Regions from separate parts of the Homo sapiens genome. Here all the other regions are linked to region 3. Evidence: promoter capture Hi-C in 16 types of primary human blood cells and fetal thymus (Javierre and others, 2016). All regions are on one chromosome and are shown on one strand. The core of a region is centred on a gene start or on the middle of the fragment in contact, and the rest is flanking DNA. Distances in the headings are between cores, read along the strand shown.

Region 1 (3,236 bases), core at 676-3,175, 1.3 Mb before region 3:
GCTCAGTGAAAATTCCAACAATCCAAGTTTCTTGAAGGTTAAGCTTCTTGTACACTTTACTGGTCACATTAGAAGAGCAATGCACATCTTTACTGGTTTACCAAGTCCATCACGCTTGTTTGAGATGCTGGTATAAAAGCTAAGTGCTTATGAGATGAATATGAGTGACGGGCTATGGAAGAATATATGCATTTGTTTACATAAATTATACTAGGCAAATTAACTCCACCAGAGTAAATGTTGGAGGTTCTGCAAAGGGAAGAAGGATGATACCTTGTTATTGATCTTGTTATTGATTGAGGAGAGATGGGAAGGGACCCAGAAGCAGCTCATTTGTTGCACACAAGATAATTCTAAATGCATTTTACTAAATGTAACACTGTATCTCTTCCCTAAAATATTGGACCTCAGACTCCTTTTTGATTAATACACCAGAAAGAGAAAAAATGATTTTGGGTAAAACATACAAGAAACCTGTAAAATAACCATGAATGTAACTTTCAAGAGGTAGGTTCTCTAAGTTCATATGCACACAAAATGTCCACTGCTTATTTAACAACTGGCTTAAAAAAAAACACACACACACACACAATTATAACAGTTTCACAAACCCTTATCTGAACCTTCTGGGGCCAAATGTGTTTTAGAATTCTGAATTTATCAGATTTTAGGAAGGGGATAACTTGGATGTATTATGGAAAGTCCCCAGTGGGGTCTGGTGCTGCAACCTGTAATCAAATCCACTGACATTTCTCCAGCAAAACATGAATATTCACACTTAATGGGATAAAGACCACAAACAGCCTTACATTAGTTTTAGTCAGATCTGGCTGCCCAGTAAGATGTGGTGCCAAACTTACTGAAAACGTTTTGGTTTTCATAGCTTTCTGGCTTTCAGAGTTAAGATAAGGGATTGTGGGCCTGTACCACAGTATTAGTAACATGAATATTGTTAAAACTTAATACAATTTAACTTAAAATAAAAGACAGTACCAAGTTCGTAGGGAATTTAAACATGTTTTATTGTCAGAGGATGTCATTAGATGAAACTCCCCATCTCATTACATAGCTCCCACAAAATCTTTACAAAAAAATTAGCCTCTTGGAGAGGCGTGAAGTTACTGAAAGAGAAAACACGTCACATTCCAAATCTGCAAGTTCTTTTAAGTATGAACTAGCGTGCACGCTGGACTACAAAGTAATTCGTGGAAGGGATTCCCTCATCACAGGTTACATAATTTCACCCACAACATAGAAAAGGTTTATATTACTAAACCACTAGGATCAGTAGAACTGACAACGTACAGAAAACGATCTAAATATGCATTAAGCAGTTAGGGTCCCGGGTCAAACTCTTGCAAAGGAAAAAAATCACTTTCTTTCTACCTAAGGCGGGTTCTCCGTAGCTGTCCAGGCTGGTGGTCACTAGACCAAGAGCAGCTGCCCAACTACAGAGAAGCAAACTCCAACTCCCAGTAGCCCCTGCGCGGAGGCGGGGCGGGGATTTGCCAGGCCCCGAAATGCCAACGCCTGAGCTCGCGGAGGATGGCGGGAACTGGAAGAGCGGCGGTCTGCAGCCCTCCCCTCATACCCTTGCCCCCGCGACCCGGCCCCTTCTCAAGCCCTCTGCACGGTACCTGTCCCCAGGACTCTCTGTTCTCTTTCCCGCTGCAGCATGGGCGGTACTACCGGGTCTCAGATGGCAGCGCGGGGGCGACGACCCCGGGGCTGGGGATGAGGGGAAACCTGGCCTAGCGGGCATGCAGCGCCTTGTCATGTCGGCGCCGCTGGCGACGGCGGCATGAGCCGTGGCTGGAGAAGTTGGGTGCGTGGTTGCCGTCTTGCTGCTGGGACTCCGGGAGGCTGTCGGAGCAGAGGTGGGCGGCACCCCCTTCTCTCTTCATGGCGGTTCTCTCTTCGGAAGTGACTCCGGCGTGAGCGGGAAGGAACCTGGGGACCAGTAAGGGGCGGGTCTTACTTCATGAATCACGTCTTGATTGGCTGGCACGGTGGTCATTTCGGTGGTGGCGCAATAGGAAGCCGCAGCCTCTCTGGAGAAGGCGGGGCTTGGGGACGGGGGAGGAAGAAACCTCCCCCTCCCACCCCGTCACATGCACTGAGGGCGCGCGCCTCTGGTCCCGGCCGCCTCGGCCTTGGCCGGCGCGCGGGGGCGGAAAGGCGCGGGCAGCAGCTGGCGGACAGCTGACGACACCCGCCTGGTTGAAGGCGAGGGGTGAGGGTTTGCTGAAGCAAACCGGAGCCCGGCAGCTGCCTTCGTTGAGGATGGCCAACACTTGGGCTTCCTGTGTCACACAATTGTGCCTCAGAAATCCGCAGCTGTTCATTACATCGTCTCTTTAACAGCTTAGGCCAAAGTGCCATAATACTGTCACAATTTGCTGAGGGATCTGCACAGCGCGATCCGAAGACTTGTCCATTCTACGACGGTTCTTGTTGAGTGTCAGCGGTAGATTATTTTTTTGTCTTTAAGAAGAAGAAAAAACCCCCAAAAAACTCCATTGGAATAAAGACAGTTGTTAATCCACAAAAGCATTTTGTTTCTCATGAGTTACCATGAAGTCTCTGCAGCCGACTTCCTTGGAGATTTTTTAAAGGAACACAAGGTCAGCTTTCAGTTTTCCATGTTAAGCGTGGGCAGCATAGATAAGTAAAAGCTGCCTGCAATCTCCAACCCTCCTTTGTAAAGGGCTTGTGCTCTGGAGGCTGTTAGCCATGGTTTTCCTTATAAACCGAGAGACTGGTCAGTATCTCTGAACCTCAGCCTCCACATCTGTAAAACGGGCATTTTACTCACTTTTCTGGGTAATTGTAAACCATAAAAGGATAAAACAGTGTACACTGCACAGTTCAGATTCTCTCATGTAACAGGTACAGAGCAAATTATAGTTCCCTTTCTTCCCCAGATAGATTCCTACAGCGAATTTTACTTCTTTACAAAATCTTCCAGAGACAGGTCAAATACTGTTGCAATAACTGTTAACAACCAAAATATCAATTTCAAGATGTCCAAGCTTTAATTGACAGAGTTATTTAATCAGTTGGATGGAAAAAAATCTTAAATGATATAAAATAATTTGGACGGGTCTTTCAAGTTTATTGTATAGAAATTGAACTATTGGCCTGATACAGTTGCTCACATCTATAATCCCAGCAGTTTGGGAGGCCAAGGCAGGTGGATAGCTTGAGCCCGGGAGTTGGAGACTAGCCTGGGCAAC
Region 2 (3,474 bases), core at 71-2,570, 1.9 Mb after region 3:
ACTGCATCTCTACTAAAAAATACAAAAATTAGCCAGGTGTGGTGGTACGTGCCTGTAGTCTCAGCTACTCGGGAGGCTAAGGCAGGAGAATCGCTTGAACCCAGGGGGCAGAAGATGCAGTGAACTGAGATGGTGCCACTGCACACCAGCTTGGGCAACAGAGTGAGACTCTGTCTCAAAAATACAAAACAAAAAACCCTTTTAGCCACAGCACAACAACACTTACGCTGTTTTTGTGCAGAAGGACAGAGAGAGGAACTGGAGATCATGGGGTGAGGACAAATAGCTCCCAAGCATCCCCTTCACGCTGCAACAAGGAATTCACAAAGCCCCATGTGCTGGCTCTTCCCCTTCCCACCCACAACTTTTACAGAAGAAAAATCAAGCTTAAATGGATAAGAGGTCAGCTATGAAGTAAAAAGGAAGTCAGGGAGACCCAGGAGCCTTTCCTGAGCATTGCTGAACAAGTGCACAAACACTTCATCTTCCAAGGACAAAACAAGCATTTATCAGAGGCCTACTGGACACCCTGCCTCCACTCCTGCCCCCTCCAATCCAAGTTCCAAACTGCAGCCAGAGTGACCTTCTAAAAACACAAACTTGTCATGATGATGAAATTTGCAAAGTGCTGACTGACACTACTGGTACGTGGTAAGTACTATAAAATGCCCGTTACATAAACACAGTACATATAATGCCATTCCTTGTTTAAACCCCTCCAAGGATCACATGCAACCTTCTCTGCCTGCCTCTGCCTTCTACTTCCCACCGTGCTCTCTCTTGCTAGCCTTACTCCGGGTCGCATTTAATTCCTCCGGAGCCAAGCTACCTCCTGGCCCAACCAAATGCCTTTCCCTCTTTCCTTAAAGCAGTCTCCCCAGATCCACTCCTCTTCATTTGACCAGTTTCAACTCCTTCTTTATATCTCAGCTTAAATGCTGCTTCTTCAGCCCTCCTGAACCTCCCAGAGGAAGCTTAGGTTCCTCCATATTTATCCTCTTATAGCCATAACATTGATCACAACTGTAATCACATACTCCATGTTTTAGGTTGTTTAATGCCTGCCTCCCTTACTAGGCTGTAGACTCCCCAGGACAAGGGCTATAGGTCTTTCCGTCTCTCTTGTTTACGGCCTATCAAGGAACTCGGACAGCATAGGTCACTAATGAACATTTCCGAATGCATACAAACTTTAAAATACGGTCTTGTTTAGGTAACCGGCCCAAAGTCGCACAAATGACCCAATATTTGAACCCACGACATTCTGGCTTTGAAGCCCAAGGTCTGACTCCAGCAGACTGCCCCCTCCTCTCCCTCAAAGCCGGAGCCAAACGGTGGGCTGGGAGGGGACTTGAGCGGCAGAGTCTGAGGATCTGCAGAGGGCCACGCGCTGCAAGGCAGTCAGTGCCGCGCGCGCTGGCCTCGGGCCCAGGAGAAGGGGCATCCGTCACGTGTACCCGGCAGGGCCAGCTTTCGCCGCACCCTGGGGCAGGAATGCAGCCCCGCCCAGCTCCCGCGCCAGCAAAACCGCGCTGGCCCTGGGGACTGACGTCAATGAAGGGGGCGCCTCGGGCGCCGCGCGGGGGCGGAGAGGGCGGTGGGCAGGGCCCGGGCAGACACGCCCCCTCACCGCCGCTCCGCCGCCGATTAGGTTTGAGGAAGCTTCGCACTCCGCTTTCGAGGCCAGCGGAGGCGGGGGGCGGGGATGGACACGCCCCCTCCCTGTCTCCCACCGATGATTGGCGCACGGAACTCCGCCTTGGGTTTGGAAGGCTCGCCTGGGAGCTCATACCTGGCTAGGGCCGAGGATTGGCTGTTCCGGGGCTAGGGAGCGCTTTCTCCCGGGAACCGCGGCTGTGACCCAAGTGGCCCGGACCAGTTTGGGGCTGCGTGCGGCCTGCCTCAAGCAACCAGGTACGTAGGTCGGCGGCCCAGCTCGGCGCTGCGGTGGGAGCCGGAGGGCGACAGTCAGAGCCGGGGTGCCAGCGGGACGCGACCGCCAGATCCACTTAGGACCCCGTCGTTCTGCGAAGCGGCCACGTCTGAGTCCCGGGGCCTCCTCGTGCTGCAGATGTCGCCTTAGGACCTCGGCCAGGATACCCTCTGCCATGCTCTTGTGCTGCCCGTGATCACCGACTGGCCCTTGTAAGCACCTTCGCAGAGCTGCGCCTGCCCTTTCTGAAGGCTGTGGAAGAGGTTGGAGTGGGCGCATCTTAGCTTGCCCCATCCCCATTTGAGGTCTGTCGGAGCTGCCCTTCAGTGTGGTGAGTACCTGCTCCAATTCTCCACCGGGCAGTGGAGTGCAGAGGGTACAGAGGCTAGCTTGGGAGTCCTGACTTTGGATCCCTCCCTGCTCCTTCCACAATCTACAGAAGCAGATAGCCTCCGAAAGGCTTCTGGGACCGACCTTCCCCAGAAGACCTCCTCAGCCATCTGGCAGGAACAAAAATAACAGTGGCTTGAGAGCCCGGGTGCTGGGGTCAGACTGCCTGGGTTCATGTCCCAGCTTCCATCACCTGCCAGCTGTGTGACTTTGGGTGTAGCTTTCTCATCTGTAAAATGGGTATAACAATAGTGCCACCTTAAGTGAGGAGGAAAGAAAGCACCCATCTGAACGTGCTCTGTTCTGCGCTTGACACTGAACAAGCTGCCTCTATGATTTTAATCATAAAGCTATGATTTAAAAGTACACAGATTTGTTGATGGCTGTGATGATGAAAATGACAATGATTCTATAGCCCCTGGTAGTCAAACAGCCTTTCCCTTCATCATTTATTCATTCAACCAGCATGCATAGAATGTCTGTGGTATACCAGGTACTAGAAGGAATGCCGTCACAAACTTAATCTCCCTTTTCCTGTTAAGAGTTATTTATACTCACCATTTATTTTAAAAAGCTTATTTAAAATTTTATAGAGGCAGTCTTGCTATGTTGACCAGGCTGGTCTGGAACTCCTGGGCTCAAGCAATCCTCCCACCTCAGCCTCCCAAAGTGCTGGGATTACAGGCGTGAGCCACCAGGCCTGGCCTTATACTATTTTGATGACGAGCAACTTGTGGCAGGGGAAACTGAGACTTATCCAAGGTCACCCAGTTAGCAGCACAGCCAGAATTCAGGGTTCTAGAAATCTTGAAAGGGTTATCCCTAGATCTAGTAGCAGTTTATTTCCAGGTCATATATGAGAACTGGTCTGGGGAAAGGGCCCAGTTCCTTTCTCCACCTCCAGGGGCATGGATTTGGAGGCCAATGTATATCCAGTTGTCTCGGCATACCTCCCTGAGGCTAGGCCCTGCTGGTGGGGAAGCCCACACAGCGATTTGAACTGGGCTTCCCATTTGAGGAGCCACAGATTTTGGCTGCTGTCCAGTGGCATGTCTGTATAGGATAGCAGGCCAGGGTCCCAAGTGTTGATTCAGGCCTTGGGCCAGAGCCTCCAGTAATTTTTCTAAGAGCCCCTAGGCCCCTGATTACAG
Region 3 (3,678 bases), core at 321-2,820:
ATTCATTTCTCAAGCTAAATATGCTAGAGAAAAGGAGAGACTGAACATGCTGTGGGGGAGAAGTTCCTTTTAAAAAAATTTTTTTGAGACAAAGTCTTGCTTTGTCACCCAGGCTGGAGTGTAGTGGCATGAACACGGCTCACTGCAGCTTCGACCTCCCTGGCGCAAGCAATCCTCCCCCAAGTAGCTGAGACTACAGGTGCACACCACCATACCCAGCTAATTTTTGAATTTTTGTACTTTTTTGTATTTATTATTTTGTAGAGACGGGGTTTTGCCATGTTGTCCAGGCTGGTCTCGAACTCCTGAGCTCAATAAATCGTCCCACCTCGGCCTTCACAGTGTTGGGGTCACAGGCATGAGCCACTGCGCCGGCCAGGGAGAGGTTAACCAGGTTAATGGACCCCTAGGGTGTCCACATGGCACCTTCAGGGACTCTGAAACGCAGAAATGATATGCAAAATTTTGAGTGCACACAGGGGATGGGAGGTGGAAGTAGGAGAAGAGAATTCGTAGTTTTATTATTTTCCAAACGGTCGCGACCTAAAGGTTAATAACAACTGCTGAAGAGAGTAGAAAAAGTTTTTAAAAAGGAAGCCCAGAGAAGAGCTAAACTTTAGAAAGAAAAAAGGAAAACATCTTTCCTATCCAAGGAAAACCTATGAACAGATGGAGAAGTCCACAGTTGCATCATCTGGGTAAAACAGAGAAGACAGAGCTGGAAACCGCGGGCAGCTTGTGCCAACACGCTCGGGGAAGGCAAATGGAAGAAGACGCCCGTGCTCCCTAGAGCAGGAGGTCCTAAGGCCGGGAATCGCTGGCCTTGCCTCTCAGGACCCGGGCTGACCCGAGGGAGGGAGAAGCCCTCATCGCCAGGCGGGGGACCCATCAGCGCGCCGGCTCAGGGACAAAATACTGATGCTTCAGACTCGGCCAGGCCGTGCGTCCGAGCTTCCCCACAGCCGCCGCACTTCCCTGCTGCCTTTGGGATGCGGCCTCCAGCCCCGCCTCGCCACCGGCCGTCATCTGTGAATCATCCCGCCCATTTCGACATCTTCCTCCCCCGCCTTCGGCTCTTGGCCTGGCGCAGAGCCCAGTGACAGCCGGGGCCCGGGGAACCTCATTCATTCAACACTTGTTGGGTTTACTCTGCGAATGTGGATGCGAGGCTCAGTGCCGGGCGCTGGGGCCTGAGGAGCACCGAGTCCGGCCAGAGGGCCCAATACTCCAGACCCGACCAGAGTCTAGCGGGCCGCCGCGGTCCCCCCTGGAGGTGAGGCGGTTCCCAGCCCGCATGTCGCAACGGCTTCCCGGACAGGCTGCGGGTCGCGCCAGCCAGGGATGACCGGCCCAGGCCGGCCCCGCCTCACGCCCGCGACGAGATCCCGCGGGAACACGGCTCTCCGGGGCCAGGGCCGCCCGCTCTCCAGCCACGCGTCTCAGAATTTGAGGAGCGCACGGGAGCGCGGGTCGTAACGGCGCCCGTCAGCAGTTTGACGTTGAAGGCCTGTCGCCGCCCCGCCCCCGACGCGATCCCGCGCACAGGGACCGCAGCTCTGCAGGCGCTAGTGAGGGGCCCGAAGTCGGCCCCTAGAGTCCCTGGGCGCGTCGCTCTTTCTGTAGCCAATCGGGGACCGACGTGGTGCGGGCCAATGGCCGCGGTCAAAGTATCAAGAGTGGTTGAGCCTATCAAAGTTCAGCCTTAAGTTTCTCCCGCCCTTCTAAAAGTCAGAGGCGGGTTGATCGCACATGTCGGCCAATCAGTGACCAATAAACAAGAAGCTTCTAAGATCAAAGGGGAAAAGGTGGGATGTAGGCGCTAGCAACGCCTCAGGGCGGAGGAATGACAGGCGACTTCGCTAATACTACCGGCTGATTTTTCGTACGTAAGGAAAGGGGTGGGTCTAACTTGGCGTCTCCACCAATGGTTGCTTGGGGGGCGTGTCCGCGGGGCCAAGCGGGAGCCGGAGGCCCCGGGCTCTCTGGGCCGCGCCTGAGGCGGACACTACGGGGCCGGGGGGCGGCGGCGGCAGTGGTGGCAGCGGCGGCGGGGGTGGGCGCCGCAGCTGGCCCGGGTGGATGGAGTTGGAGGGGCGGGGTGCTGGCGGTGTGGCGGGGGGGCCGGCGGCAGGGCCCGGGCGGAGCCCCGGGGAGTCGGCGCTGCTGGACGGGTGGCTGCAGCGGGGCGTGGGCCGGGGGGCCGGCGGCGGGGAGGCCGGGGCCTGCAGGCCCCCGGTACGACAAGATCCGGACTCCGGCCCGGACTACGAGGCGCTGCCGGCTGGAGCCACTGTCACCACGCACATGGTGGCAGGCGCCGTGGCAGGGATCCTGGAGCACTGCGTGATGTACCCCATCGACTGCGTCAAGGTGAGACCTGCACCCGGCTTCGAACCCGACCTGGGGCTGACCCGACCCCTGGGTCTTGTCCGGAGCCAGGATCCCGGCTGAGAGCCGGAGCCGACATGGGTTCCTTCCTGGCTCCTGCCACTACCACATGATTCGAACCGACACTCCATTCAAGCAAGGTCCCAGCTGGGAGTTGATCCCAGTCAGGAACCAGGACCTATTTCTAACCGTCAGTGAAATCTGAATCGGGACTCAGGATCGAAAATCTGTCAGCCAAAGCCCTGGACCCCACCTGGGACTAAACAGGAATAGGGTGGGATGGGGTATCCCGAAGCTCAGGTAAGTGCTACTAACTCGATTAAGGTGAAGCCAACTGGCGTGAACCAGACCCTGAAATGGATCTAACGGCTTGAGATGTTTTCTGGGCTAGTGCTTTTACAAACTCCTTGCTGTATCTTCCCTTACTGACGGGGCAGGAACCCGAATCTGGGATCTCTCAGCTAGATAAAGGACTTACATGTTAAATCTTAACACATGAGTGATTGGAAATCATTGTGCAGTGAGAATGCAGAATTCCAGACTGGAAGTAATGTGGGAAAGATCGTATTCAGGAATAGGTTTCAGTTTCTCTGTGAAGCAAGCATGATACCCCACCTATTTCCTGAACATGAAAATTGAGCTGGGATTAGGACTGTATGTTCAGGGAGCACATCAGCCTCCAAACAAGAGAGATGAAACTGATAGCATATTTCTTTGGCCACCTGAAGTTGGCAAAAAGGGAGAAGTTGCCTAGAAAGGAAGTGTGACGGTATTAGAAAGTAGATGTAAGTATGAAGAAAATGGAAAGAGATCAACAAGAGGACACGATTCTTGTGAAAGTAAAACTAATTGCATTCACAACCAAGCAGGATGATTTATGTGTACTGAAGTCAGGTCCTTCTGAAGAAAGCTGGGTGAAGAAAGAAACAGATTATTGTTCTTTACAGTTCTTATTCTTGTACATTAGTAAAGGTGCCAGCCATTAAAGGTGAGGACTGAATTGAGGGAGAGGTAAACTAGAGGGGACTGTTGATATGACAAAGACCGATGCCTCCTTTACATGTGAAGGGTAATAGTCAAACAGTGACCTGGCAGCTTTTTGATGTATGTTTTCTCTTCAAATCAGGAAAGTGTTATGTATTCAAAAGGAGGAGAGAATCAACTTGGGAAAGGCAAAGTAGATCCCTTTTACTTCCCTTTGGTTCCAGTACTGTTTCATGTTTTTCATTAGAATGTGGATAAGGAAATGGGGGGAGCGCTCATTAAGCTTTGTGAATGACAGCAAACTGG
Region 4 (3,576 bases), core at 147-2,646, 1.2 Mb after region 3:
TTGAGCCAAAATTTGCTCAAAGACTGATCTCTTCCTTGCAGGGAACAGCTTTGGGGCTGGGGGAACTAGAACCCACATGTTGGTCTAAACCCTGAGAAGGTGGCAGTGAGGAAGTATCCCCTCAGGTGACTGGATCTGTGTTCCTCCTTAACATCATCTGATGGAATGGCAATGAAAAGCGTGGATTGTGGAAAATACAGAAAAACATAAAGGAAAAAACTCCAATCCCCTGAGCCCACCACTGTTCAGGACCCCTGCTTTTGTCACCTACTATTTCCCTTTAGTTTTTAGCAGCGGCTGGATGTGATATGTCTAGTTTAACCAGTCCCCTTGATCTTTCTATATAATAAATAACACAGGAGTGAACATCCTGAATCAGATCTTAGCAGAGATGCTCACATGCGGGGTAACTGTCCATGGTGTGTGGAGGGGTCCTCGGAACCCCCTCTTAGGATCATCTCCACATACTCTCCCAGTTCTGAGATTCGTTACCAATAGCAGGTTTCCGTCACACTGCGATATCAGAGCAGTGCAGGAACTCTCCGCTCCAAGGGGTTTTTTCCTCCTAGGGGAACACTCTGCTAAGTAATGGGCAGAGAACAAAGGGGCTCCTAATTCAAGGCAGGCCTAAGGGAGGGTCAGAAAGAACTTTAGCTGGAGGTATTTACAGATGTGACCTCGAATCCTTGGGGATTCTTGGAAAATGGGCAAGGTGCCAAAAGAGGAGAACTGGCCAGGCCTTCAAAACTAAAACACCAGAGAATTACAGACAGCGAACTTGCCCCTAAGCCCTCGTTGTGGGTTTGTGTTTGAGCATTTAGGAGAGGACTCCAGTGCTCCTCAGCGACAGACACAGCTGCCTCTGCGGTGTCTGAAGGCCCTGGTCGTGGTGACGCTAGATGGCCGCCCTGGGCGCCTCCTGTGGGCGTAGAGGCATCACCACTCTGCACTGGCAGACTCAGCATGGAGTTGGAGCAGAGTCTGACACGAGCACTTGCCATCCCAGGCGTTTCAGTTCTGACTGAGAAGGTAGATGCACAGGGGAGGAGAGGGCCCTTTCGAGCTCCACTCTGCCTCCACCACTCATTCCCTAACCCCGCAGCCTCAGCGCCCTCATCTGTAAAATGGGGAGTTTTGCCTACAGGGTTCAGCACAATGCCAGCCTGACATAGGAACCCCAGTGGATTGTCAGTTTTGCCATTATCCCCTGCATCCTGGAGGTGACACCGCCTGGTTAATAGGCAACACTCCCGACGGCCCAGCACAGCCCCAGGGCAGCAGGAGGCTGGCCTGTGGCCAAGAATGCATGGTGGAGGGGGCCTGGAGGGGGACTGCAGCTCCTCCTCTTCCTGCTTCCTCCCTGCTCCACCCCGTGCCTAGGGCAGCACAAAAGCCAATCGCTAGCAAACTCCCTGCCTAGCAAGGCCCAGCCTGGGGCAGAAATGGCTGCAAGTGGCCGAGGTCTCTGCAAGGCTGTGGCCGCCTCTCCCTTCCCGGCGTGGAGACGAGATAACACGGAAGCCAGGGGAGGTCTGAAGCCTGAGTATGATGCGGTGGTGATAGGAGCAGGTAAAGTGGTAAAGCAGGCCGGGCCAGAGCTGAGGGGCGGGAAGACAGCCCTGCTCAGAGCTTGGTGGGGAGGGGGAGGGGGAGCCAAGCCCCACTGCTCTCTCCTCTGGCATAACCCAGCCAGAAGTTTATACGCTAGCAGGGGCTGCAATGGAAAGCCCTTCCATCTGGCAGGCAGGCACCTGGGATTCCGGTGCTGGCTCTGCTGTGTGGCCTGGGGCAAATGCTTGCCTTCTCTGGGCTTGGATCTTCCCATGGAGAATGACAGGAAGACTAGGTGAGCTCAGGGGTTTCCCTATATCTCTTGCAAAGTGACCTAGTTTCCACCACATTCTCAGCCTATGGTTTGTAAGGGTTGGAAAGAGCCCTGGGCCAACAGACAAGTGAAATCCAGCACCCCGCCCCCTCAGTGCCCTGAGTTCTGGTCACCACTACCTTACCACTGAGGCCACCCCTCGTCACAAGAAACTGCAGTCATTTCATAAAGGCCAGTTAGGATAAAACAGAACTGAGTCCCAGAGTTCCTACTGCGTGTCTGCAGAGGGAGATGGACCCCATTGCCTTGCAGCTCTGGGACATTTGGGGATCTGCAGTGATCTGCCACACTTTGCCAACCCCTGGGCTCAGAGTATCACAGTCTACTGGGTGCTAGGGGAAGAGGCAGGCCCAGGACCAGGTGGTCTTTCCTTAGTGCCTTCCTTTCACACTTGCAGAGGGCCCCAAATGCATGATTGCCAACTGGGTCTATACAGAGATAATGACGGGACCGAAAGCAGACGGCACTCAACATGCAGCTTTGAGGGCATGCCTTCATTTTCATATGTACTAGAGCAGTTGCGAGCTGGTAGATACTCAACACTCACCTCTCCAGGGAAAAATGTGTGATGTATGTGTGTGTGTACATGTATATATATGTATATATACACACATATATGTGTATATATATGTATATGTGTTACGTACATATATATACACATATACACATGCTTATTTTAAATATTGAAATAAAAGATACACTGCACACAATTTTACAAATAAAGATACAATACTCTCAATTTAAATGCAGTCTACCCGAGTGATTCTTACCAAAGGCTTTCTTTGATTTTTGCCAAACTCAGTAGCCAACCTATAGTTGCAAATGACAAATGAGGGTAGCTCCAAAGAGAACGGTGCTCCATATTTTCTGTAAAGAGTAGGATGATCGTGAAACAAATGAAACAACAAAGATTTATGTCCCAACCTTACTCCTTTATTTTTTAAAATTTATTTTTATTTTATTTATTTATTCATTTATTGAGATGGAGTCTTGCTCTGTTGCCCAGGCTGGAGTGCAGCGGCGCAATCTCGGCTCACTGCAACCTCCGCCTCCTGGGTTCAAGCGATTCTCTTGCCTCAGCCTCCCGAGTAGCTGGGACTACAGGCGCCCACCACCACGCCCGGCTAATTTTTGTATTTTTAGTAGAGACGGGGTTTCACCATGTTGGCGAGGCTGATCTCAAACTCCTGGCCTTGTGATCCACCTGCCTCAGCCTCCCAAAGGGCTGGGATTACAGGTGTGAGCCACTGCGCCCGGCCTCCTTCTTTAAATGACAGGAATGATGTTACTCAAATAAGATAATATTGTTCTAATACTAGAATATTTCCTTCAATTTTTGTGCTATTTATTCATGCTATAACAGCTAACACTGTTAGGTTTAATCTGCATTATTAGCATTTTCCCATCACTTTCTTAAGCCTGACCACAAAAAATAAATTCAGCCCTTCTGTGTAATATTTGCTGATGACAGTGGTGTAAATACTCCCACCATAGCCTTTTCTGTTACCAAGATGAGGTTGCTCAATGTGATTTAGGAGAGATACCCAGTAGCACATCATTGTATAGTGTGTCCACCATGCAGATATGTACATAGAGGCCAGTGACTGCCAGGGCATGGGCAACAGTCAAATGTAGTAAAACAAATAGGAGGTAGTGTGTTTTGAGTATTTATTACCTTTGTTTTTAATTTA
Region 5 (3,718 bases), core at 62-2,561, 1.2 Mb after region 3:
AGTCATACAGTATGTGCTTGGATTTAGTTTGGTTTTGGTTTGACTGCTTTCACTCAGCATAATTATTTTGTGATTCATCTGTGTTGTGGCATGTATCAATCGTTCATTCCTTGTCATTGAGTAGTAATCTATTGTATCAGGATGCCACCATTTGTTCATTCATTTACTTGTTGATGGACATCTGTGTTATTTTCAGTTTTTGACTATTACAAATAAAGCAACTATGAACATGCACGTACAAGTCTATGTATACATGGATGCTTTCATGTCCAAGGACAGATACTTAGGATAGACTGGCTAGGTCATGTAGGTGTATGTGTAACTTTTTAATAAACTGCCAAACTTTTCCAAAGTGGTTGTGTAATTTTTGATTCCACCTGTAGTGTTTGAGAGTTCAGTTCCTCCATATCCTCACCAACACTATAGTCCGTCTTTTTAATTTTAGCCATTCTAATAGATGTTCACTAGAATCTCACTGTGTTTTAAATTTCATTTCCTTAATGACTAATGCTTTTGAGCATCTTTTCATGTGCTTATTTGCCATATCTTTTGCCCAGTTTTTATTTGAGTTGATTGTTTCTTCTTCTTATTCTTACTGAGTTTTGAGAGCTTCTAATATATTTTGGATGGAATCCTTTATCAGATACATGTTTTACAAATATTTTCTTTCAGTTTGTGGCTTGTGTTTGTATTCTCAATGGTATCTTTCAAAGAGCAGAAGTATTAGAACTCGAGTTTATCCATTTTGCATTTATGGATTATGCTTTTAGTGTTATATCTAAGAAATCTTTGCCCAACTTACAAAGAGTTTTCTCTACATATTCTTTTGAAAGTTTTATAGTTTTAGGTTTTATATCAGGTCTGATGATCTACTTTGAATTTTTGTGTGTGGTATGAGCTATGGATTGAAGATAATTTTTTTTTTGCATGTGGACATCCAGTTCAACAGTTTAACATTACAACTCAGAAATACTTGTCATTTTCACTTACATAATTTCCACTCTACATTTTAAAGGAGTAATTTATTTTGAAAATGTTTTCCAGATTAATTTTGGGTTAAAAATATTTTTACTGGGGATGCAGTGGAAGGTGTTCTTACATTTCTGCAGCATGGGCTGATTGCCTCTCTGTCCCTTTCTGCTCTAAGGGGTCTCATCATCCAGCCAATGAGTGAGCTGACTCCACCTCAGGGAGTCCATTTACCATCAACATCACTCGTGTTCTCATCACAGTCTTTAGGCAAACACAAGATATCAGAGATCATAGACATTCAAGTGGTTTTATTTAAGCTAACTGTTAGGCTTTTTTATTTTTTAACAGTCAATACATATAATATTTAAATTAAGAATTTTTAAATATTTCAGTTTTTAAACTACTGTTACAACTATGTCAACTTAAGAAGCAAACTATTTGGTGGCCTTTCTCTTCCTCTTTATTGAAAACCTGGCAAAGGAACGAACTCCTGAATTTTCAGTTCCTAAAAATGAGTAGTGTAAAGGAAAGGTGGTCTTTAAAGTTTTTTTTTTTTGTTAATGTGCAACACATTCTTTTCTCATCATATAAATAATGAGTTAATTGTAGGAAATTTGGAAATACAAAGAGATAGTTTTTAAATGACCTATAATTCCATGACCCAGAGCTATTAGCTTTTTAATATACTTTCTTTGGGTCTTTATTTTTTCTATATAATTGGGATTATACCACATTTACAGTTTTACTGCCTGTTTTTTTTTCCACTTGCCATTATATCAAGATATTTCTTCTATTTTTTTAAATAGTCTCAGAAGCATAATTCTTAATGGAAACATTGTACTCCAGTACATGAATCAGTGTATCATCCTTTATTTAACCATTTTCCTCATATGGACATAAATATTGCTCCTAATTTGCTATATCACTCTTGCTTTAAGAAACATTTGTGCTTAAATTTTATCTCATGTCAGATAAATTCCTAGGATAAATTTAGGATAAATTCCTAAAAATAAAAATGTTGAGTCAAAAGCCATTCAAAGATATTGTACTACTTTATAATTCCGCCAAGTAATATATGAGTATGCTCCTTTATATACACCAAATATTTTTATCTCCCCTGTATTAGTCCATTTTCTTACCACTATAAAGAAATGCCCAAGACTGGGTACTCTGTAAAGGAAAGAAGTTTAATTGACTCACAGTTCAGAAGGCTGTGGAGGCCTCAGGAAACTTACAATCATGTCAAAAGGCAAAGGGGAAGCAAGACACCTTCTTCACAAGGCAGCAGGAAGGAGAAGTGCTGAGTGAAGGGGAAAGAGCCTCTTATAAAACCATTAGATCTCATGAGAACTCACTGTCACAAGAACAGCATGGGGGAAACTGCTCCCATGATTCAATTACCTCCACCTGGTTTCTCCGTTGACATATGAGGATTGTGGGGATTATGGGGATTACAATTCAAGATGAGATTTGGATGGGGACACAAAGCCTAATCATATCATTCTGCCCCAGGACCCTCCCAAATCTCATGTCCCTTTTACATTTCAAAACCAATCATGCCTTCCCAACAGTTCCCCAAAGTCATAATTCATTCCAGCATTAACCAAAAAGTCCAAGACTGAAGTCTCACCTGAGACAAGGCAAGTCCCTTCCACCTATGACCCTGTAAAATAAAAAACAAGTTACTTCCAAGACACAATGGGGGTATAGGCATTGGGTAAATGTTCCCATTCCAAATGGGAGAAATTGGAACTATGGGGCTACAGGACCCATGCAAGTCCAAAATCCAGTGGGGCAGTCAAATCTTAAAGCTTTGAAATGATCTCCTTTGACTCTATCCACGTCCAGGTCACACTGATACAAGAGGTGGGCTCCCAAGGCCTTGGGCAGCCCTACCCCTGTGCTTCTGCAGGGCACAGTCCTCTTCCCAGCTGTTTTCACAGGCTGGTGTTGAGTGTCTGCGGCTTTTCCAGGTGCATGGTGCAAGCTGTCGGTGGATCTACCATTCTGGGGGCTAGAGGATGATGGCCCTATTCTTACAGCTCCACTAGGCAATGCCCCAGTGGGGACTCTGTGTGGAGGTGTCTGACCCCACATTCCCTTAATCACTCTAGCAGAGGTTCTCCATGAGGGCTCTGCCCCTGTAGCAAATTTCTGCCTGGACATCCTGCCATTTCCATACATCCTCTGAAATCTAGGTGGAGGTTCCCAAACCTCAGTTTTTGATTTATGTGCACCCGTGGGCCCAATACCACATGTAGGTCACCAAAGCTTGGGGCTTGCACTGTCTGAAACAACAGCCAGAGCTATATGTTGGCACCTTTTAGCCATGGCTAGGACGCAGGGCACCATGTCCCCAGAGTGCACAAAGCAGCAAGGCCCTGGGCCCAACCCCTGAAACAGTTTTTTCTTCCTAGGCCTCCAGGCCTGTGGCGAGAGGGCCTGCTGTGAAGACCTCTGACAGGCCCTGGAGACATTTTTCCCATTGTCTTGGTGATTAACGTTTGGCTCTTCATTATTTATGCAAATTTCTGCAGCCAGGGCTTGAATTTCTCCTCAGAAAATGGGCTTTTCTTTTCTATTGCATCATCAGGCTGCACATTTTCCAAACTTTTATGTTCTGCTTCCCTTTTAAACATAAGTCCCAATTCCAAACCATCTATTAGTGAATGCATAAAACTGAGTGCTTTTTAGAGCACCCAAGTCACTCCCTGAATGCTTTGCTACCTAGAAATTTCTTCCACCC
Region 6 (3,508 bases), core at 200-2,699, 1.5 Mb after region 3:
ATGTTTTCTATAGTAAGTTATATATTAGATTTTTTGAGGAAAAAATTAATATTAATCTTAATTTTTTTAAAAATGTGTTTAAACTACACTGAGAGGTCACGTAAGTAGTTAACAGGTAATACATAAATTGACTTGATATTTGCATGCTGAATATGCAAAATAAACTTAGTATTTAAGGAAAAATGTTAGTGTAATAAAAATTTCATGTTACTTGATTTACTATTAATATCTGTTTATTTTCCCTTTCCTAGCCAACTATAAATATTTACATGTTCTTCTCAAATAACAGACAAAAATCCAATAAGCTCTCCATCTTACTCATGACATTCACTCTTTCTGTCTCCCTCCCTGTATCTGTCTGTCCCTCATTTCTAACTCTGCCCGTCTGTCTACATCTCTGATTACCCTGCTTTCTAACTCTGCCTAGGTGACTGTCCCTCTCTGTTTTTGACTTCTCTGTCTCTGACTGACCCTCCTCTCTCTCTGCCTATTGCATGTGTCTCTATGACTCTGTGTGTAGGTGTCTTTGAGCTCCTCTCTTGGATTCTGCCTTTCCGTCTCTCCCCCAGTTATCCACCTCATTTTTAATACATCCTTGCTGTTTACTTTTCCTTTTAATATTTATAAACAAGCAGAGTTGGTTTTATTAACCCTATTTTAAAGACAAGAAAACAGAAACAGGACGACTGGCATACAATTTGAGAAATCAGGATGTAAATCCAACTGCTTCCCTTCTTTCTTTAATAGTCTTCTGGCATTCCATGGCAAAGAACTTGAAACAGCACAACTGCAAGCCAATATGAACACTACAGGCATTCAGATTCTTTTCTAAGAGACAAATGTGATATTAAGGAGTGCTACACACCTTTTGCCCACATTATTCACTCTGCACAGGTTAAATGGTCATGAACTGTCAGCCATTTGCCTATCCCAGAAATCCGTATCCTCATGTTCAGTTTGACCCATGTTATTTGGAAACCTCACGATACTAGATACTAGAATCTGTTTTCCAACAGTGCTTCTCTGCTTCTGTTTTTATCCCTAGTCCCAATCCAGCTATATCTGGCATTAAAAAAAAAGATACAAGAAGGACAACAAATATTAATAAAACTGAAGGGTGAATTTGAAGAATGAAAAACTATACAGAAGGCTAGCATGAGACAGTGAAAAATGGACACCACAGACTCGAAGCAATTGGTCCATGTTTTATTAAGAGAAAAGAAAATTCTCTCCAAATGCAGGCTTACTGCTGCTAAGTAACACCCTATAACTTTTCCTCTATCTAATGCTTTGACAACTGGAATTTCTCTGTAATTCAATAAGCTCTTAGGAGTTCCCCAAGCTTCATCCATCCTGCTGGGCTCATTACTGGATAATTCTAAATGTTTTCTGCACTAGCGAAGAGCACATTTCCTCGTGGGTAGCACAACAGAAGGAGGGTACTCTTTCAAGGCATGAATAGCCTAGCTCCATTTCTTCTCACTTCTCCTATAGGTGAGAAGTCTACAACAAATATAATTCAACAACTAAAAGAAATGTCTAAATTATAAGCTTAGGTTACTGGGGTTGTCAAAGATCATCCTACAGGTCACGAGTTTTATACATAGTGTGACGGCTAATCATATATTTATATAAGCTAATGAAAAATCTATACTTTTGCTTCTGGCACTAGTTCATTTACTTATGTCTAATGAGTTGCATTAGGGCCAAATAAAAAATATACCAGTCTTTTCATTCATTCTGGTGAGATATTTGTGAATAGTTAGCTTATGGAGCTAATGAGGACAAGGTCACAGACTCAAACTCCATGCTGGCCAATTAGCTTTGCTGTGTGTTTCTAGGTTCCATGGTCACAGTCAACAACCTTAACCTTGGCTAAGAAACACACTGATCATTGAAGCATTAGGGGAATGAATATAGATGTATCAACAAAATCCATACCTTTCAGAAAAAAAATAAAAATTAAAAATAGTAATAACAACACCACCCCAATCTTTAATATTATACTAAACCTGGCTAATATGTGCCTCATTCGAATAATCTTTAATCTTCTCAACCATGCAGGGTTAGTCTAATCTGTCTTCCAGATGATGAGAAACTGAATTCAGAATGATCATATGAACCAAAGTTACATCTAGTGAGCCTGGATTCAGACCTTGGTCTGTCTTGACTCCAAAGCATAGGTTATTGCCACAATGCTACATGGCCTCTCCAGAGTGCACCTCAGTGACCTAGGACAATCAACAAAATGTTCCTATTCAGAACTATTCAGCACACTCATTACTGAGCATCCACTATACATACTCACACACTATAGATGAGAATTAGCATACCTTCCAAAAATTCCTTTTAAGTAAAAAACAGTCAAGGAACAAAAGTGTTTAATTGATTTTTTTTTTTTAATAAAGATGAAGTCTCACTTTGTTGCCCAGGCTGGTCTTGAACTCTTGGCCTCAAATGAGCCTACCTCAGAGGATCTCAAAATGCTGAAAGTACAAGAGTGAGCTACCAGGCCCAGCCAAAAGTGTTTAAGATTAAAACATAAAGGAAAAATTAACACATTATAGCATACAAAGTAGATTTTAATGGAAGTGACTTTCTATTGTCATAGCTTTGTATACAAGTCTGGTGTGAAAAAATAGTTATCTTGCTGATTCATAACTAAAGGTAAGAAAGAAGCTGGCAAAACATAGCACAGGCATACCACATCAAAAAAGAGAGTAAAGGAAACATTTCCTAAGCATCTGAATCTGCAGATATCTGGTAGTCAACATGGCACTTGAAGGAAGTAAAAAATATATACTTCAATTCTAAACTCCAAGACTTTGCCTTGACCAACAAACCATTTTTCTCTATAAGGCTTTCCTCCTTGGTTTTTCTCAACTCTCACTCCCTGCAGATACATACATACCAATGCCATCATTAGCATCAGTCACTAAGAAATGCCATCTTGAAAAAATGAAGGTCACCAAGTCTCCCAGACCCTATCCAATAAGCTTAAATTTTAAAGTCTAATAGTCTGGCTTAAAAAAAATAAAAATAAAAATAAGGCAGGAAGACAAAACTGTTCCATAAACGTCTATCCTAGTCAATATCTGAGTCATAAAGATAGATAATTGCTCTGCTACAAGCTACAATGTACAGAATTGCATTCTTACTACAGGTTGTAAATGAAGCACCAGTTCAATTTCAACAAACTAGGTACAAAGCAACATTTGGAATCTCTAGAAAAACAGAAACACAGCAAAGCCCAATAACCTTGCACAACAGCATTTTAGGAACCTCTAAAGTTGAAAAAAAATCTAATATAATTTTTATATAAAATGCAATTGCTAAAAAACAAACTGCAATCTGACAACTTCTATTTACAGTATTTTTTAAAGTTTGTGAATTAAGGATGACTATCCTCATTTTACAGATAAATGGAATTTCAGGAAAATACCTAAAATTATCATCATCACTATTATCATAATCATCAATAACAACAGCAACAAAATAATGAGAACTT
Region 7 (3,472 bases), core at 20-2,519, 1.9 Mb after region 3:
AACAGTAAACCTGTGAGCAAGGGAAAGTGAACTATTCAGACCTAAAATCCTGTTCTTTGTACTCTCCATCCAATGCTCTTTTCCCCAAAGATCCATCAAAACTAAAAATCATAAAAACCAAGCATAAATGATCGCTGCAGCGAGGCAGCCCATGGGCTGAAATGAAATGATGTCCTGGAACATTTTTCTCCCACTCTTTACCTGGTTAATTCCTACTCATCCTTCAGGTATCAGCTTAAACATCACTCCCTTACTCTGGGAAGTCTCTGCCAACACCCCCAACTCTGGACTGGGAGACCCTCTCCGATGCTCCCAAAGGATCACGTACTCACCCTAACAGAGCACTTATCACATCACATCGCTTCTTGGCCTTGTGGCTAAGATCAAGTGCAGAGCACTGACCACGTCAAAGTAAAACTCCCTGCTCTTAACTGGCCTCCATTCACGACTGCTTCTGTACACAGTGGGTGCTTAACAAATGCCTGCTGAATGAGTGAATGAAATACCGTGCTCCAGGACTCTCGCCCGATCCTCTAACTCTTCCCACTCCCTTCGGTTCCCAACAACTTCCTGGGCCATCTCTGCCCCAGGGCAGTCGGCATCAGAACGCCCCATTCCCGTCTGCCCTTTCTGATGAGGAAACCGAGGAGCCTTTACGGTCTTTCCCAGTTCAAAGTCCTATCCTGAACTCTAAGCAGCAAACGAGGGGGCGGAACCTCGGCGAAGAGCAACATAAACCAGTCCCAGGCAATCAGCCGCGACCTGATGGGAGGGTGAGGGGATGGGACAAAGGGGCCAACGGGACCCCGAAATCCCCGCAGGCCGAGCCAAGGCGAAAGGGCACAGAGCGGCGCCAGGTATGAGCCCAGGAAGGGGCGAGGTATATCGACGCCCGCACTGGCCTTGGCCAACACCTCTGCAGCCAGGGGGGCCTGATGGAGCCCGTGAGGCTGGACAGGGAAGGCCATGCCCGAGGTCGTGGGGCCAGCATGTGGCGGCCCCCGCTGCGCCCAAGCACCCAACTACACACAGCCTGCGGAGACACTGGGACGCGGGGGGACGGCACCTCACCTACCCGGCCGCTGGCTCCGTGAGGGAGGCGGCAGGGTCGGGCAGGAGCAGGGGTAGAGCCACTGGGCCCCGGAGCGTTTCTTCAGGCCTCCCCCGGCTGAACGCCGCTCCTCCTGCCAGGGTTGTTCGGAAGTCGCAGGTCCGAAAATCTCCTCCGCCTACGCCGCGGCCGCCACCGCCGCTTCCGGGACGCGAATCGCTCTGCGGCTGCGTCCTCATGACGTCATCCCGCTCCGGGTTTAGCTCCGCCCACCCCAGCACAGGCAAGCACCCTTGCCAGCAGTGCGCCTGCGCGTCTTTCCCGCGCGCTCCAGGCTGGAGTTAATTCTGTCCTTGGCCGGCCGCCGTTCACAAAGCCTTGAGGACCCTTGGAAGCACGTGCTTGGCGACCCTGCAGCTCGTTGCCCTGCCTTGCCGCAGGGAACAGTTGGCGAGAGGCTTAAATGAAGAATTTACGTCTTCATCCTCTTTCCTTCCAACTTTGGAACTGAACTGGGGACTGTGTGTGAGCCCCGGAAAGACACCGTATCCTGTATGAGATGCCCAGCAGAGCATGCAGTTGTTTCCGGAGTAGCTAGTGTGTACAAGGTCCTGTGCAGGCCTCTCCCAGCTCAGTTCACTTCACACCGTGTGGCCCAGTTAATTTCCCTTAAAGCACACATCCGATGGCTTTATATTAGTGACTTAGCGCTCAGGTACAGAGGAGCCAAGCACTGAACCGGACTGAGCTCTTTTTAGACATTATCTAGTTCTCCTCCAACGACCCTATTAGGGTTGTCGCCATTTTACAGATGGGGAATCTCAGACGTGTTAAGGAACTTCTTTAGAGTCACAGCTAAGAAGCAAATGGGAGCTGGAATTTGAAGCTTATGTGTCATCTGACCCCAACGCCCCAACCATACCACCACCCACCTTGGTCTGCATTTCCTGGTCTTGTCTCCTGCCATCTTTCAGCTGCCTTTAACTTTGGCCAACTGAACCCCTCCACTGTTACCCTCAAATGCCCCTGGCACTCAAATGTCTGTATCCCTTCCTTGAGTGCCCCAGCTGGAAGTAATCACTTCCCTCTTCAAGTAGCCACAGAGCTTTAACTGCATCTCTTCCTCCATTATCTCCTTTCAGAAAGACAGGCCCATCCCTCCAGCCAGGACTTAGCTGTGCTCCAGGGTCCAACTCTTATTTCCTTAGGGCTTTGCTCTAACAGGCCTGAAATCTTGACTCTCGCTAACTCTTAATCATCATTCTAGAGACAAAATTCATGGAAAATTTCTCCTTTAGCCTAACTTTACCCCCTCTTTCCTACATGAGTTGGAAGACTCACTGTGAAGTGCTCTCTACCGCTGCTTCCTCGCCCAATTCACTCCTCACTGCACTGTGGTCCTGCTCCCCTCCATATTTCTGGGCTACCTGCCTGCTCACCTGTGACATCCTGGCTGCTAAATCCAATGGACACTTCCCAGTCCTCCTTGCAGATGACCTCAGAAGCACTGGAATCTCTTTCCTTTTTGGCACCATTGTCCACCTTAGCTTCCATGACACCACCCTCTCCTCTCTTTCCGACCTTCAAGGTCTCCTTAGGGCTTTTCTTCCTACCCCTCAAATGCTGGGGCTCCTTTTGCTACCCTTCTTTCTTCTGACTCAAGGCACTCCGTGAGGATCTCATTCACTCTTGTGGCTTCTGTCAGCTAATGTTTCGTTTCCCGTGTCTATGTCTCCAGCACCTAAAGCAGTACCTGGCACATAGTAGGCATTCTGTTAAGAAGGGTTGCAAGATGTTACCATTGGGGGGTAGTCTGTGGGATCACCCTGTGTTAGTTCTTATAACTATGTATAAATTGACGATTGTCCCAAAAGTAAATGCTTACCCTGTGTAGGTATTTTTCTCAAAGCTCCCTGCTTTAGTTGACTTTGTCAATTACCCGGCATGCGCCAGTCCCAACATAAGTAAGGTAGGAGGGCTTCTCCTCAGATGAATTGCTTGGTTGGTTTTTCCAGCTGTAAAATGGGGATAACCATAGTGGTACCCTCAGTGTGGGGCTGTGATGAGAATTAAATGAGCTAAAGTATGTAAATTCCTGACATGTTATAAGTGTTCAAAAATCGTTAGCAATCATTGTGATTTTTATTTTTACTCAAAGCCCTACCACCACCACCCCTAGCCCAAAAATCAGACAAGAATCCACGAAAGGCCAAAATGTAGAAAGATCCAATTCCCACACATATCACTAAGCCATATACAGAAATCCACTCACCACCCCTTAGAGAAATGGACTGAGCTTTGTGGTGGTCCAGGCCCATCTGCTGGACTCTGCCTCTCCTCCCTTAGGATGGGTCTTTTCCCCGAAAGCTCCTGGGTCTGTCATGCAGATAGCCTCTGAAGGCCCCTCTTCTTCGTTTCCTA

What was found. Contacts are between HindIII fragments. The CHiCAGO score rates a contact against its expected background, and 5 or more counts as called.
Region 1: a contact is called between the fragment with the promoter of SLF2 here and the fragment with the promoter of SLC25A28-DT in region 3, in 1 of 17 cell types (fetal thymus). The highest score is 6.1, in fetal thymus.
Region 2: a contact is called between a fragment that was not itself captured here and the fragment with the promoter of SLC25A28-DT in region 3, in 5 of 17 cell types (fetal thymus, total B cells, non-activated CD4 T cells and 2 more). The highest score is 6.7, in fetal thymus.
Region 4: the fragment with the promoter of PYROXD2 here is called in contact with the fragment with the promoter of SLC25A28-DT in region 3 in 4 of 17 cell types (naive CD8 T cells, non-activated CD4 T cells, total CD8 T cells and 1 more); the score reaches 12.4 in naive CD8 T cells.
Region 5: a contact is called between a fragment that was not itself captured here and the fragment with the promoter of SLC25A28-DT in region 3, in 4 of 17 cell types (activated CD4 T cells, non-activated CD4 T cells, total CD8 T cells and 1 more). The highest score is 8.8, in activated CD4 T cells.
Region 6: a contact is called between a fragment that was not itself captured here and the fragment with the promoter of SLC25A28-DT in region 3, in 3 of 17 cell types (total CD4 T cells, fetal thymus and naive CD4 T cells). The highest score is 7.9, in total CD4 T cells.
Region 7: the fragment with the promoter of ZFYVE27 here is called in contact with the fragment with the promoter of SLC25A28-DT in region 3 in 2 of 17 cell types (non-activated CD4 T cells and naive CD4 T cells); the score reaches 6.4 in non-activated CD4 T cells.

Annotation. Positions count from the first base shown.
Region 1 is chr10:100,911,652-100,914,887 of GRCh38, reverse strand. It overlaps SLF2 (SMC5/6 complex localization factor 2), which reads right to left and starts at 1,925. Exons shown (of 20, transcript NM_018121.4): 1 at 1,638-1,925. The coding sequence starts at 1,777. RefSeq lists enhancers at 1,776-1,825, 1,846-1,915 and a silencer at 2,136-2,405. The HindIII fragment of the contact is 2,989 bases long and covers 46-3,034 here.
Region 2 is chr10:97,685,556-97,689,029 of GRCh38, reverse strand. It overlaps AVPI1 (arginine vasopressin induced 1), which reads left to right and starts at 1,789. Exons shown (of 3, transcript NM_021732.3): 1 at 1,789-2,264. RefSeq lists enhancers at 745-1,698, 766-1,965, 1,699-2,652 and a silencer at 1,423-1,802. The HindIII fragment of the contact is 688 bases long and covers 977-1,664 here.
Region 3 is chr10:99,618,737-99,622,414 of GRCh38, reverse strand. It overlaps SLC25A28-DT (SLC25A28 divergent transcript), which reads right to left and starts at 1,570. Exons shown (of 1, transcript NR_186534.1): 1 at 497-1,570. It overlaps SLC25A28 (solute carrier family 25 member 28), which reads left to right and starts at 1,976. Exons shown (of 4, transcript NM_031212.4): 1 at 1,976-2,370. The coding sequence starts at 2,080. RefSeq lists enhancers at 420-1,001, 1,002-1,584, 2,168-2,750 and silencers at 1,236-1,395, 2,126-2,285. The HindIII fragment of the contact is 4,603 bases long and covers 1-1,784 here.
Region 4 is chr10:98,413,002-98,416,577 of GRCh38, reverse strand. It overlaps PYROXD2 (pyridine nucleotide-disulphide oxidoreductase domain 2), which reads left to right and starts at 1,396. Exons shown (of 16, transcript NM_032709.3): 1 at 1,396-1,569. The coding sequence starts at 1,443. HPS1 (HPS1 biogenesis of lysosomal organelles complex 3 subunit 1) reads left to right here. Exons shown (of 20, transcript NM_000195.5): 20 at 1-380. The HindIII fragment of the contact is 3,850 bases long and covers 1-3,576 here.
Region 5 is chr10:98,438,538-98,442,255 of GRCh38, reverse strand. All of the region lies in intron 3 of HPS1 (HPS1 biogenesis of lysosomal organelles complex 3 subunit 1), which reads left to right. Among named protein-coding and RNA genes, the nearest start is that of HPS1-AS1, 5.9 kb to the left of the region's middle. The HindIII fragment of the contact is 2,948 bases long and covers 1-2,785 here.
Region 6 is chr10:98,137,422-98,140,929 of GRCh38, reverse strand. All of the region lies in intron 1 of R3HCC1L (R3H domain and coiled-coil containing 1 like), which reads right to left. Among named protein-coding and RNA genes, the nearest start is that of R3HCC1L, 4.5 kb to the right of the region's middle. The HindIII fragment of the contact is 209 bases long and covers 1,345-1,553 here.
Region 7 is chr10:97,734,925-97,738,396 of GRCh38, reverse strand. It overlaps ZFYVE27 (zinc finger FYVE-type containing 27), which reads right to left and starts at 1,269. Exons shown (of 13, transcript NM_001385875.1): 1 at 1,076-1,269. RefSeq lists a silencer at 1,004-1,073 and an enhancer at 1,404-1,553. The HindIII fragment of the contact is 3,622 bases long and covers 1-1,939 here.